Linked DNA regions of Homo sapiens: region 2 is linked to region 1. Evidence: promoter capture Hi-C in human tissues and cell types (Jung and others, 2019). All regions are on one chromosome and are shown on one strand. Each heading gives the region's core, a stretch centred on a gene start or on the middle of the fragment in contact. The rest is flanking DNA. Distances are from core to core; before and after follow the strand shown.

Evidence for each region. The method cuts DNA at HindIII sites, captures the fragments that hold promoters and counts their contacts. A contact is called where the count stands out against the background at its distance.
Region 2: a contact is called between a fragment that was not itself captured here and the fragment with the promoter of ARHGAP24 in region 1, in 1 of the 25 tissues and cell types used here (dorsolateral prefrontal cortex).

The regions. Positions count from the first base shown.
Region 1 is chr4:85,473,620-85,476,601 of GRCh38, reverse strand. It overlaps ARHGAP24 (Rho GTPase activating protein 24), which reads right to left and starts at 1,452. Exons shown (of 10, transcript NM_001025616.3): 1 at 1,043-1,452. The HindIII fragment of the contact is 7,943 bases long and covers 1-2,982 here.
Region 2 is chr4:86,020,267-86,023,248 of GRCh38, reverse strand. All of the region lies in intron 13 of MAPK10 (mitogen-activated protein kinase 10), which reads left to right. Among named protein-coding and RNA genes, the nearest start is that of MAPK10-AS1, 98 kb to the left of the region's middle. The HindIII fragment of the contact is 3,411 bases long and covers 1-2,982 here.

The sequences.
Region 1 (2,982 bases), core at 203-2,702:
TGGATTCCAATGAATTTGTCTTACTTAGTAGACATAGCAACACATATTGTTTTATTTATGTATTTATGTATAAGCAAAGCCTTAACAACTTTTATATTCCAAATACTCAGCACGATTTATTTATTTCCTTTTTAGAAAGAGATGAAACAATGATGCCGTGGAAGGTTAAAAAAAGAGTAACATAAAATGTGCTGGAAACAGAAATTACTTGGAGAAATTACTTGTTTAATTCAAATGAATTAAACGAGATATAGTCTACAAAGAAGTCTGGGCTCCCTATTACTGGTTGATGCTGAAAATCTATCTAAGGAATTCAGAGTAACATTGTCTCCCTTCTATTTGGGTACGTATAAAATAAATGTAGTCTTAAGTATTTTCTAAAAACGAGACCATATTACATGTTTATCATTAAATGTTATTTTTAAAAACATTTGGACAAAATCTTTTGAGTGGCTTCAAATTCACCAAAGATTCCCTAACGTTTTGTGTTTACAAATATATGTATATATTTTATAATATATATTTCTAATATGTAATATATTTATAAATATTTTAAAACATATTTTATACATATAAAATATATATTTTTGCAAATATATATGCTTATTATTAAAACCTATCTTTGTGCGCCTGTTACATAGGGAACTCCTATAAGATACTAGAGGAAACAAACAAGGGGAAGGGGAGGATGGATACCAAGAGAGGAAATTGAATTGTACAAAGGGTTTTTATTAATTCCATCTATTTTTAAAGCCAGAAAGACATACTACCAGCTTGCTGTCTCCCGGCACAAACATGCGCGCGCGCGCACACACACACACAAACACAGACAGGCTACATCAGCACGGGATTCCTGCGATCCCTCCCCGCCCCCCGCAGCCCCCTCCCCGCCCCCCGCAGCCCCCTCCCCGCCCCCCGCAGCCCCCTCCCCGCCCCCCGCAGCCCCCTCCCCGCCCCCCGCAGCCCCCTCCCCTGGCGCAGGCAGCCGCGTCCGTCCTTCCCGCGGTAGCTCCGCGCACTTCCTCGCGACCGCATCACCTACCTTGCTGGGAGCTCAAGACAGATGCCGGACAGGGCTGCTGCTCCGAAGGAAAAGGCTCCCAGGACCAGCAGTAAGAAAACGCAAAGAAAAAAAGGTGGTAGTGAGGCTCCTTTACTTTCCACAACAAGGGGAAGTGTTGAACTCTATGCACTGGGCTGCTCCGCAGCGCGGGTTTCGGAGGAAATAGGCGGCCGAGAGAGCTGCGCCTGCGATGGGAAGTTGGGGGGATTCCCCCAGCCACCCAGCCACCCCCGCCAGGCTCCTCTCTGGTCCCCGCCGCAGCCTTGACAGCTCCCCTGGTCTCCGAGCCCCTCCAGAGCCCTGCTGGTTTCCACCCGGAGCTGGGCTGTGTTGCCACATGCACTTGAGAAATCCTAGCAGTTGCGCAAAGAGTCCCAGAAGTTAGAAAGGGTGATTGTGTGTGAATGTGTAAATATACAGTACAAGAGGCTGGAACAACTGAGTGGGGCCAACCCTCAGACACAGCTCGAGGTTTCAGATTTCATTTGGCAACTGGTAGCTTCACAGGACTCGAGCCGCACTACAGGGGAGGCCGGCAGGAGCCCCGCCCTCCCAAAGCCTGGGTTATCTGAGAGCTGGAGCTACACCGCCTGGCGCCACTGACAGAATGCGCCCTGCCTGGTTCCTCCGCATCTGGCATCGCTCGTTCCTTTCAAGTGCATCATAGATACTTGTTGGCCACAGATCTGGGGCTGTGGGCGCGAGAAGGTTGGTGAATACATGTCTCCTGCCCTCAAGGAGCTCTGCATTTCATTGGCCAAACCCCATACACCGGTTTTACTTGCTTCTACCAACTCTGTCTCGCTAACATTTTATTTCTCCAATTAGAATTACCTGGGCCATTAAAGCAATATTCCTGGAAATGCACATTTAGATGGATGCTCTCTAACTAGAGCCTTAGAGAAATTCAAAGTATAATTACTTTCTTACGGTGGTGTAAGAACTCTCGGAGTTACACAATATGGGACAAAAGGACAAACTAGTAAACATTGTTTTGATGCAGGCCGTCTCTTCCCACCATCACCACAATGTCTGTTTCAAATTGTGATCTTACAGTTCTGGTTACCTGGCATGCTGAGTCAAATTATTTCAAAAAGCTTTGTAAAGATCTCTGTTTTAGAAACCCACTTACAGTGGATCAGTCATGCAATCCTAGCACTTTGGAAGGCTGAGGCAGGAGGATCGCTTGAGCCCAGGGGTTTCAGACCAAAATTGGCAACATAATGAGACTCCTGTCTCTATAAAAAAAAAATTAAAAAAATAAAAAAAAAGTTGGGCGTGGCGGCGTATGTCTGTAGTCCCAGCTACTCAGGAGGCTGAAGCGGGAAAATCCCTTGAGCCCAGGAGGTCAAGGCTGCAGTGAGCTATAATTGTGCCAGCGCACTCCAGCCTAGGTGACGGAGTGACACCCCCGTCTCGAACAATTACTACTGCTACTACTAATAAAAGAAACTCTCTTTTAGAAATCATCACCAGATATCCTTAAGACACAGAATGGGGGTGTCCTCACTAGGGATCTCCAGTGAGAGAGGGATATGGAAGAAGAGCAAATGTTTAGTTTTAGAAACACCAAAAATAAAAGGCTGAGTGGACACTGATATGTTTTTCCTTTTTGTCCTCTTTCTCCAAGTTCTTGGAGAAACGAATCTACCCCATCCCATGCTGAGGTCCTACTATAAACTTGATTTTCTGGTGGGAGAATTCTCAGCCCTTTAATGAATCAAATTAATTTGTGTGGGGAAAAAATTGCGTTTCATATTTCATTTTAAAAATATGTATGGAATTCCTAAGCTAGAAGTAATGTAGCTTATTTTCCAATTGGTGGGAATAAATTACCTTCATCAACCCACATGGCCTTACATGTTCTAGCAACACCCTAGCAGGTGAATGCTGATGGGCAGTTTCAGATGAAAGCTGGA
Region 2 (2,982 bases), core at 206-2,705, 550 kb before region 1:
CATTTATGATCAATTGATTTCTGATAAGGATGTAAGACATGGACAAAGAATAGCCTTTTCAATATATGGTGCTGGGATGATTGGATATATACATGCAAAAGAATGAAGGTGGGCCCCTGCCTCATATCATATACAAAAATGAACTAAAAATGAATCATAGACTTAAGTATAAGGTCTAACATTATAAAACTCTTAGGCAAAAACATAGGAGTAAGTTTTTATAATCTTGGATTAGAAAATGGTTTATTAGATATGACACTAAAACACAAGTGATAAAAGAAACAACAGATAAATGCTATTTCATAAAAATTAAAAATATGTGTGCTTCAAAAGACACCTTCAAGAAAATGAAAAGATAAACCATAGCATAGAGGAAAAACATTTGAAAATACATATCTCATTAAGTAACTTGTACCCAGATTATATAAAGAGCTCTTACAGGCCTGTCACAGTGGCTCATGCCTGTAGACCCAGCATTTTGGGAGGCAGAAATCGGAAGATCACTTGAGGCCAGGAGTTTGAGACCAGCTTGGGCAACATGGCAAGCTCCTGTCTCTACAAAAAATCTTTTTTTTAATTAGCCAGGTGTGGTGGTATGTGCCTGTAGTCCTAGCTACTTGGGAGGCTGGGGCAGGAGAATTGCCTGAGCCCTGGAGTTAGAGGATACAGTGAAACATGACTATGCCACTGTGCTACAGGCTGGGCGACTGAGACCCTGTCCTTAAAAAAAGAAATAAAGAAGAAAGAAAGCAAGAAAGAAAGGAAGAAAGAGCTAAAGAGCTTACAACTCAATAATAAAAAGAAAATAAAGCAATTAAAAAATGGCCAAAGGAGCTGAGTAAACTTTCTCCAAAGAAGATATACTAATGGCTGACAAGCACATGAAAAAATATACTCAACATTATTAGCTATCAGGCAAATGCAAATCAAACCACAATGAGATACCATTTCATGCACACTAGGATGGCTAGATAAAAAGACAGATAATAAGTGTTGGTGAGGATGTAGAGAAATTGGAATCCTCATATACTGCTGGTAGTAATGTAAAATGGTGCACCCACTTTAGAAAACAGTTTTGAGAGGTGAGAGCGTGCTGGCAGTCCTCAGAGCCCTCGCTTGCTCTCGGCACCTCCCCTGCCTGGGCTCCTACTTTGGCGGCATTTGAGGAGCCTTTCAGCCCCCCACTGCACTGTGGGAGCCCCTTTCTGGGCTGGCCAAGGCTGGAGCCCACTCCCTCAGCTTGCAGGGAGGTGTGGAGGGAGAGGCACGAGCGGGAACCCGGGCCGCGTGCGGCGCTTGCGGGCCAGCTGGAGTTGCAGGTAGGCGTGGGCTTGGCGGGCCCCCGCACTCGGGACAGCCAGCCAGCCCTGCTGGCCCCGGGCAGTGAGGGACTTAGCACCCGGGCCAGTGGCTGCGGAAGGTGTACTGGGTCCCCCAGCAGTGCCGGCCCACCGGCGCTGTGCTCGATTTCTCGCCGGGCCTTAGCTGCCTTCCTGCGGGGCAAGGCTCAGGACCTGCAGCCCGCCATGCCTGAGCCTCCCACCCACTCCATGGGCTCCTGTGCAGCCCGAGCCTCCCCGACGAGCACCACCCCCTGCTCCATGGCGCCCAGTCCCAGCGACCACCCAAGGGCTGAGGAATGCGAGCGCACAGCGCAGGACTGGCAGGCAGCTCCACCTGCAGCCCTGGTACGGGATCCACTAGGTGAAGCCAGCTGGGCTCCTGAGTCTGGTGAGGACGTGGAGAGTCTTTATGTCTAGCTCAGGGATTGTAAATACACCAGTCAGCACCCTGTGTTTAGCTCAAGGTTTGTGAGTGCACCAATCGACACTCTGTATTTAGCTGCTCTGGTGGGGCCTTGGAGAACCTTTATGTCTAGCTCAGGGATTGTAAACATACCAATCAGCACTCTGTGTCTAGCTCAGGGTTTGTGAGTGCACCAATCGACACTCTGTATCTAGCTGCTCTGGTGGGGCCTTGGAAAACCTTTATGTCTAGCTCAGGGATTGTAAATATACCAATCGGCACTGTGTATCTAGCTCAAGGTTTGTAAACACACCAATCAGCACCCTGTGTTTAGCTCAAGGTTTGTGAGTGCACCAATCCACACTCTGTATCTAGCTGCTCTGGTGGGGCCTTGGAGAACCTTTGTGTTGATACTCTGTATCTAATCTGATGGGGACGTGGAGAACCTTTGTATCTAGCTCAGGGATTGTAAATGCACCAGTCAGCACCCTGTCAAAACAGGCCACTCGGCTCTACCAATCAGCAGGATGTGGGTGGGGCCAGATAAGAGAATAAAAGCAGGCTGCCCGAGCCAGCATTGGCAACCCACTTGGGTCCCCTTCCACAGTGTGGAAGCTTTGTTCTTTGCTCTTTGCAGTAGATGTTGCTACTGCTCACTCTGGGTCCATGCTGCTTTTATGAGCTGTAACACTCACCACGAAGGTCTGCAGCTTCACTCCTGACCCCAGTGAGACCACGAGCCCACTGGGAGGAACGAAAAGCTCCAGACTCGCTGCCTTAAGAGCTGTAACACTCACCGTGAAGGTCTGCAGCTTCACTCCTGAGCCAGCGAGACCACGAACCCACCAGAAGGAAGAAACTCCGAACACATCTGAACATCAGAAGGGACAGACTCCAGACGCGCCACCTTAAGAGCTGTAACACTCACCGCGAGGGTCCGCGGCTTCAATCTTGAAGTCAGTGAGACCAAGAACCCACCAATTCCGGACACAGTTTGTCAGTTCCTCAAGTGTTAAAGCTAGAATTACTCTATGCCCCAGCAATTCCACTTCTAGGTGTATACCCAAGAGAAATGAACACATGTCCATACAAAACTCGTGCATGAATGTTCATAACAGCATTATTTGTAATAGCCAAAAAGTTGAAACAACCTAAATATCCATCAAATGCCTATCAACTAATAAATAAACAAAATGTGATGTATCCATACAATGGAATATTATGCAGCCATACAAA